Regions from separate parts of the Homo sapiens genome. Here regions 1 and 3 are each linked to region 2. The links are contacts of gene promoters, found by promoter capture Hi-C in human tissues and cell types (Jung and others, 2019). All regions are on one chromosome and are shown on one strand. The core of a region is centred on a gene start or on the middle of the fragment in contact, and the rest is flanking DNA. Distances in the headings are between cores, read along the strand shown.

Evidence for each region. Contacts are between HindIII fragments. The study calls those that stand out against the background at their distance.
Region 1: a contact is called between a fragment that was not itself captured here and the fragment with the promoter of DENND5A in region 2, in 2 of the 25 tissues and cell types used here (IMR-90 fibroblasts and hippocampus).
Region 3: a contact is called between a fragment that was not itself captured here and the fragment with the promoter of DENND5A in region 2, in 1 of the 25 tissues and cell types used here (hippocampus).

Annotation. Positions count from the first base shown.
Region 1 is chr11:9,126,165-9,128,953 of GRCh38, forward strand. No RefSeq gene overlaps it. Among named protein-coding and RNA genes, the nearest start is that of SCUBE2, 36 kb to the left of the region's middle. The HindIII fragment of the contact is 6,465 bases long and covers 1-2,789 here.
Region 2 is chr11:9,263,932-9,266,800 of GRCh38, forward strand. It overlaps DENND5A (DENN domain containing 5A), which reads right to left and starts at 1,419. Exons shown (of 23, transcript NM_015213.4): 1 at 1,030-1,419. The coding sequence starts at 1,138. RefSeq lists enhancers at 1-290, 451-570, 1,651-1,720 and silencers at 861-1,220, 1,271-1,370. The HindIII fragment of the contact is 15,544 bases long and covers 1-2,869 here.
Region 3 is chr11:9,061,470-9,064,185 of GRCh38, forward strand. The region is part of intron 7 of SCUBE2 (signal peptide, CUB domain and EGF like domain containing 2); the gene reads right to left. All of the region lies in intron 2 of NRIP3-DT (NRIP3 divergent transcript), which reads left to right. Among named protein-coding and RNA genes, the nearest start is that of MIR5691, 28 kb to the right of the region's middle. The HindIII fragment of the contact is 3,919 bases long and covers 1-2,716 here.

The DNA.
Region 1 (2,789 bases), core at 84-2,583, 140 kb before region 2:
TTGGGAGGTGGAGGTTGCAGTGAGCTGAGATCGTGCCACTTCACTCCAGCCTGGGTGATAGGGTGAGACTCTGTCTCAAAATAATAATAATGATAATAATAATTCACATACCATAGAATTAACCAATTTAAAGTATACAATTCAATGGTTTTTATTATATTTACAGAGTTGTGCAAACCATCACCATAGCTGTCTTTGGAACATTTTTATCAGCCCAAAAAGAAATCCCATATTTACTGTAGTTACTCTTCATTTGTTCCCCAGCCCAACACAACCCTATTCTCTTTCTGCCTCTACAGATTTGCCTCTTCTGAATATTTTGCATAAGTGGAATCATACAATATATGGTCTTTTCAAGGGTAATCCACGTTGCAGAATGTATTGGTACTTTAATTCTTTATCTGGCCGAATAACATCTCATTTTGTTAATCCATTCATCAGTTGATAGACATTTGTGTTGTTCCTACCTTTTGACTATTATGAATAATGCTGCTATGAACTTTCATGTACAAGCATTTGTGTAAACATGTGTTTTCATTTCCTGTGGGCTGATTCCTAGAACTGCTGAGTTATAAACTAACTTTTATGTTCAACCTTTTGAGGAACTGCCAGACTATTTTCCAAAGTGGCTGCACTCGTTTACATTTCCACTAGCAATGTATGAGAATTCCTGTTTCTCCACATTCTTACCAACACTTATATCTGTTTTTCTGCTTATAGCCATTCTAGTGGGTATAAAGTGGTATCTCATCGTGGCTTTGATTTACATTTCCCTGGTGGCTAACAATGTTAAGCATCTTTTCACATGCTTATTGGTCATTTGTACATTTTCTTTGAAGAAATGTCTCTTCAGATTCTTTGCCCATTCTTAAATTGCGTTGTCCTCTTATTACTGCGTTCTTTATGTTTTTTGGATACTGGTCCCTTGTCAGATATATGAGTTACACATATTTTGTCTCATTCTATAGGTTGTATTTTCACTTTCTTGAACAGTGTTCCTTGAAACATAAAGTTTTAAAATTTATGGAAGTCTAGTTTTGTTTGTTGCTCATGCTTTTTTTTGTGTGTGTAGAGCCAACTGATCTTAGACAAAGCAAACAAAAACAAAAAGCGGGGGACACCCTTTTCAACTAATGGTGCTGGGATAATTGGCTAGCCACATATAGAAGTATGAAACTGGATCCTCATCTCTCACCTTATATAAAAATAAACTCAAGATGGATTAAGGACTTAAATCTAAGACATGAAACTATAAAAATTCTAGAAGATAACATTGGAAAAACCCTTCTAGACATTGGCTGAGGCAAGGATTTCATGACCAAGAACCCAAAAGCAAATACAATAAAAACAAAGATAAATAGCTCAGACTTAAACTAAAGAGCTTTTGCATGGCAAAAGGAACAGTCAACAGAGTAAACAACCCACAGAGTAGGAGAAAATCTTCACAATCTATTCATCTGACAAAGCACTAATATCCACAAACTACAATGAACTCAAACAAATCACCAAGAAAAAAATAAACAATCCCATCAAAAAGTGGGCTAAGGACATGAATAGACAATTCTTAAAAGAAGATATACAAATAGCCAACAAATATATGAAAAAAACACTCAACATCACTAATTATCAGGGAAATGCAAATCCAAACCACAATGTGATACCACCTTACTTCTCCAAGAATGGCCATAATCAAAAACAGTAGATGTTGGCGTGAATGCAGTGATCAAGGAACACTTCTACACAGCTGCTGGGAATGTAAACTAGTACAACCACTATGGAAAACAGTGTGGAGATTCCTTAAAAAACTTACTACTAGGTTTCTACCCAGAAGAAAAGAAGTCATTGTACGAAAAAGATACTTGCACATGCACGTTTATGGCAGTACAATTCACAATGGCAAAATTGTGGAACCAAGTCAAATGCCCATCAATCAATGAGTGGATAAAGAAACTGTGGTATGTATACATGATGGAACACTACTCAGCCATATAAAGGAATGAATTAATGGCATTTGCAGTGACCTGGATGAGACTGAAGACTATTATTCTAAGTGAAGTAACTCAGGAATGGAAAACCAAACATCATATGTTCTCACTGATATGTTGGGATTAAGCTATGAGGATGCAAAGGCGTCGGAATGATACAATGGACTTTGGAGACTTGTGGGGAAGGAGGGGGCACCAAAATCTCACAAATCACCACTAAAGAACTTACTCATGTAACCAAACACCACCTGTACACCAATAACCTATGGAAAAATAAAACATAAATAAAAATAAAATAAACATAAATTTATAGAAGTCCAATTTTGTTTGTTGCTTTTTTTTTTTTTTTTTTTTTTTCGTAGAGACAGGGTTTCACTATGTTGGCAAGGCTGGTCTCAAACTCCTGGCCTCAAGTGATCCACCCACCTCAGCCTCCCAAAATGCTGGGATTACAGGTGTGAGCCACTGGGCCTGGCCTAATTTGTTATTTTTTTGTAGAGATTGGGGTCTCACCATATTTACCAGGCTGGTCTTGAACTCCTGACCTCAAGCAATCCTCCTGCTTTGGCCTCCCAAAGTACTGGGATTACAGGTATGAGCCACTGTGCCCAGCTTGTTGCTTGTGCTTTGAATGTAATAGCTAAGAAACCATTGCCTAATCTAAGGTCATAAAGATGTATGCCTATATATAGCTTTAGCTCTTACATTTAGATCATCAATCCATTTTGAGTTAATTTTTGTATGTAATGTGAAGTAAGGTCCAACCTTATTCTTTTGCATGTGGATATCCAGTTGTCCTGGCAT
Region 2 (2,869 bases), core at 169-2,668:
GTAAGATTAGTCAACAGGATAATCACTTTCGAAAGAGAAACTTTACAGTGACAGAAAAGTGAAAAGGAGTCCCCCTCATCAGGATGACACAACCTTAAAGTACAACCCGACAAACCTCCACCCACTTGAAACCCACTAACTGGAAACTCCAGACAAAAACTTATTTTCAAAACTGTTACAATTCAAAGACTCCAATGACAGTGCAGTGGAAAATTCACGGGGACTGTATAATTTTCACGGCCTTCTGCAGTGAGTGCCAAATCTGGTCAGGGCCCCATCTTTGACTCCCCTCATCACTTTCCCTTTCAAATATGACTTGAAACGCATCAGAACACACCAAGCCTCTCCAACTACAATGCTGCTACCCTTTTATTCACAAACGCCTCTGTCCTCATAAAGGACATAAATTACTTTTCAAAAAAGGCATGGCCCCGGGATACAAGCCCTTTCCAAGGCTAAGGGAGTTCCTACTCTTCTTGGTGCCGCCCAAGTTCACTTTATTACTTCATATCCCATCCAGACGCGCAGAGCTGCAATCTGACTCAGGGGGCCCAGCCCAGGGCTGGGGTATAACGGTTTTGAGGAACTAGTATCACAAGCTTCTTGGGAAGTGGCCAGATAAACTCACCAAGTTTTTGTTTTCCTTTTTTTTAAGTCTGGGTGGAACTTACTTTCACTAGGACGTGGGACGCCTTCCCTCCCTAATGGGTGCCAGAGGACAAGCTTTCCTTTATTTTAAACGAAGTCACTCAACCTACACCAAACTGAGAACACACAACCCTCCCTCTTTCTGGTCGCCGAAGACGTGGCCACTGCGCAGCGGGCCGTAGGTTTGGACCCCTCATGGCTCAGAGCCCCTCATCCGTTTCCCCCCTCCAGTCCAAAGCCCCCTTCGCCCGCGCCCGCCCTGGTCCTCCCGGCCGACACTCGCCCGGCTCCCGGGACAAAGCGGGGCTGAAGGAAGGTTTCTTCTGGGGTCCCCGACGACAGCGGGCGCGGGAAAGCGCCCCGGGCTCGGCGCGCACTCACCCGACAGCTCGTCCGGCTCCAGCCCGGTCTCCGTGTCCAGTCCGCAGATGACAAAGTAGTCGGCGAAGCGACTGGGCGCCGAGCCCCCTCCGCCGCCGCCGCCACTCATGGCGCCGGGGCCGAGACCGGCCGGGCAGTGCGGAGCGGCACCGAGCCCCCGCAACCCGGGCGCCCGCCCGTCCGCCCTCAGGCCGCCCCTCCCGCCGCCGCCGCTACCGCGGCTCGGGCCGCCGCCCCCGGCCCTGGCCCGGTCCCCTCGGCCGCCGCGGCTGCCGTGACGGGGCGGGGGGGCACCGGGCCGCCCCGCACCGCATCCTGGATGCCTTCCCCTCCGCGCCGCCGCCGCTGCAGCTAGCCGAGAGCGCCGCGGCCCGAGCGAGCCTGGAGAAGGGCGGAGAGCGCGTGGACAGCCCCCACCGTGACCCTCCTCCTACCGCGCCTGCGCAGGCGCCGTCTGGGAGGGGGCGGGCTCCTGGGGGAAAGGATGACGTGATGCTCTTCGGACCCCGCCGGCCGCAGCTTCCCGGGAGGTCGCCGCAGCGCAGCCGGTGACTGCTTGGTCGCCCGCAACTGCCACTCCCCCGGGATTGAGACTCCTTTAGGGAGGGCTGAGGAGGTGCGAGAAGAGTGGGCGCAGCCTGCAGAGCCGGGCATTTGGCCCATGCTCTGCCCCCAACCACCCACCCAGCAAGCAGAGGTCCAGAGATCTTAGCGCGGCCTTGCCATGAGGATGGGGTCTCACGACTGAGCTCGGAAGCTCACCTAATCCTAGCTGCAGCGTGTCAGCCTAGACCCCAGACAGGGCCTTCTCCCTGTCCTCTCTTTTGGCAGGGGCGGATGAGCCGGTTTTATATTTACCCTTATTTTACAGACGGGGAAACTGAGTCTCAGAAAGAAGCAAGGACTTATCCAAGGTTACGCTGAGTCTAAGAGACATAAGCCTGGTCTGGAATCCTGGGCTTGTGGTCAGCTCCCCGTTCCTCGCCGCTCCCACCTCCCAGCCTGCCCTTTTCCCACGCTCTCTCCTTTTTTCTCTGGAAGCCTCCAGAGGCGCCTGCCATTTGGGAGCTCCTCTTCCTCTTCACTCTGTGAAAACTCTCAGATCCACCCCTAAACCTGTTTTCCTGTAAGAGGATAGGGAGGAGGCGAAGGGAAACTTACCTATTGGTCCTTGTCCTAGGACCCTCCGATTTCCTTTCCCATAGAAGCTAGGCAGATGTGTCTTTGTTGGAAACTGGAGATCAGAGGCCAGAAAGGCAACACAGGTATAGTGGTCACTAGCATGGGCTCTAGAAAAAAATGCTCGGATTTCAATCCTGACGATCATTTACTTTTGACCTTGAGCAAGTTAATCTCTAAGTGCCTGGCGTCATGGTTTTTGAGACAATTACATAAGGTAAATGCAAGTACAGGTAAAACAATGAGAATACTGCCTGGAACATGGAAATCACTCAGTAAATATTACAGATTTTTTTTTTCAAGACGGAGTTCTGTCTTGTTGCCCAGGCTGGAGTGCAATGGCGTAATCTCGGCTCACTGCACCTCTGCCTCCCAGGTTCAAGTGATTCTCCTGCCTCAGCCACCCAAGTAGCTAGGATTACAGGCGCGCACCACCACACTCGGCTAATTTTTTGTATTCAGTAGAGACAGGGATTCACCGTGTTGGTCAGGCTGGTCTCGAACTCCTGACCTCAGGTGATCCGCCCTCCTCTGCCTCCTAAAGTGCTGGGATTACAGGCATGAGCCAATGAGCCCCCAGCCTGGATTATTATTATTGTTCCAGAAGGAAGTACTCTTACGGTTTGTTCTGGGAGGCTGCCACTAAGAGCTGTAGAAGGCA
Region 3 (2,716 bases), core at 159-2,658, 200 kb before region 2:
GATCACTTGAGCCCAGGAGGTCAAGGGTGCAGTGAGCCATGTTTGTGCCACTGCACTCCAGCCTGAGCAATACAGCGAGACCCTGTCTCAAGAAAAGAAAAGAAAAAAAAAAAAAAAGAAGGAACCCTAAAGGGAACAAGCTTAATCCTAATTAAATATGCAGATAGTACATGTATGTTTATCTCTGTTCCTTTCAAAACCTCACGAATATGAGAATCAATTGATTTTTTAAAGTATAAATCCTTAAGGACAAAGAAAATAGGAGAAAAGACAATAGATAAAAGATGTCAAACATTCTGGAAGTGACATGTTAGCAGGAGAGCAGTATCTGGCGTAGAAGAAAGCTAGATCCTAGCAGTCTGCAGAGGGGGTGCCAACAGCTGGTAAACTCCTGTGAGCCCCAGAGTCCCAGAAAGACTCAGGAATTGGAGGTATCAAGTTATTCTAGAGGCAGAAATGAGGACGGAGTTAAGAACAGGAAGATTATGGAGAGTCTACATATGAAAGAGATAAACCCCAGAGCTCCTCCTTAACTCCACATAGTCATGTGACTACCCTTCTCCTATTCTGGCTATAGCAGAGAAGTCTGGACCAGAGAGGTACCAGGCTCAAGGGCACCAGGAATAGCAGAGGAGGAGAGGGTGTCACCATCAGGTGAAAGTCTATACCCTGAAAAAGAGATCTCTAACCCTCATCCCTCTTCCCCCAACTCCTTCAGCTCCCTACTGGCAGATTTAAAGCCATTGAAAATTCCAAAAGCTATGTTAAAATAACAGCCATTGAAAGTTCCAAAAAGCTATGTTGAAACAACACTGCAACCCAGGATGCTAGCAGCCAAGCCTACAGGCAGGTGGTTGAAGGACTCCTCTCCGGCTAAATTGACCTGCCCAAGCAAAAAGACCTAACGATATTAGCATTCGAGGATCTCCAGATGAAATGGCTATGTCACTGCCTCGTCACCCAAACATGAAGCCCACAAATCAATAGAATATCCAATTGGCTTTTTAGTATTTTACTGTTAAATATGAAAAGTCGGTCAAGAATCACTAGACATTTCTGGAAAGCCTCTAATACGGAATGAATATACCAGATCAAACCAACGGGGAAAAAGAAACCTGGAGGAAACAAAGATAATCTAGAGAACAGAAGAGGAGTTAAAATCTCGTAATTAATTTCCTCAGGGGGACAAGAAAAGCATCCATGAAATAAGAGCAGGTTCCTAAAACCAAAGGCCAAAGTAAAATGCCTGAAAAATTAAAACATGAAAACGAAAACTTTATCCTGTGCAAAGATTAGAAGAAAAAAATGAAAACTCTCCTAGAAAGTAGAACAAAAATACAAAGGAGAGAAAAGAAAAAGAATAAAAATACAAGGGAGAGAAAAGAAAAAAAAAAAAATTAGGGGGTCAATCCAGGAGTTACCACAGCCAGCTAACAGGAGTTCCGGAGGGAAAGAACAGAGAAAATGGAGTGAAGAAATTTATCAAAGAAGACGGGTGCGGTGGCTCATGCCTGTAATCCCAGCACTTTGAGAGGACGAGACAGGTGGGTCACATAGGCCAGGAGGTTGAGACCAGCCTGGCCAACATAGCAAAATCCCTTTTCTACTAAAAATACAAAAAAAAAAATTAGCCAGGCATGGTGGCATGTGCCTGTAGTCTCAGCTACTGGGGAGGCTGAGGCAGGAAAGTCACTTGAACCTGGGAGGTGGAGGTTGTAGTGAACCAAGATTGCACCACTGGACTCCAGCCTGGGCGACAGAACAAGACTCTGTCTCAAAAAAAAGAAAGAAAAAGAAATTTATCAAAGAAAAGAATGTAAGAAAATTTCTCAGAACAAAGGGACTTGAATGTTCATATTGAAAAGTACTAAAAATAGGTGGGCAAAATCCCACAATAAGGAACATTATTGTAAAACTTCAGATCACTGGGAAGGAGGAGAAGATCCTGGAAGCTTTCAGAGAGAAGCTTTCACAGGTTTCACACAAAGGATCAAGAATAAAAATGATTTTAGACTTCTCAAAACAACTCTGCATTCTTGAAAACAATGGAGCACTAACTTCAAAACAGTGATGGAAAATTCTTTCCAACTCTGAATTCTACACTGAGCCAAATTCTCAATAAAGGGTGCAGGTAGAATATAAAGGCATTTTCAGGCATGCAAATTTTTAAATACCTCTATCTCATTCGCCGGATAAACTAATGAGAGACAAGACATAGGATCCACCCAACAGGAGAGCGGCAAAGGGAATTGTAGGCTGATGGTGAATGCCCAGATGAGAGACATGCACTCAGCCAAGACAGCCAGGCCCTGCTAGGGCAGGCTGGAAGCCTCCGAGGAAACTTTTTCACCAAGAAAATTGATTTGATTAGTTACCTACACTATATTTGAACACATTGAAAAGTATTTTACAGCTTTGTCTGAAATTTGCAAAAGAATTGGTAAGAGGTACTTAGAAAACTAAGCAAACAAAGAAAATATAATCATAGCACGTTACATGACTCAGGTGAATCGTATTTAGATATTCAAAGTCAGAATAATGTAAGCACATAATATTGATTTAAATTGTGAGACAACAATATTAAGGGTATAGGGAGAGGTCAGGTGTGTGTGTGTGTGTATTGCGGGGGGAAGCAGTGAGAGCTAAATCCTAGTCTTTCATAATAGGAAGTTAAAAGCTACCATCTAAAACAGACACATCAAGAAGTAACTGTAGG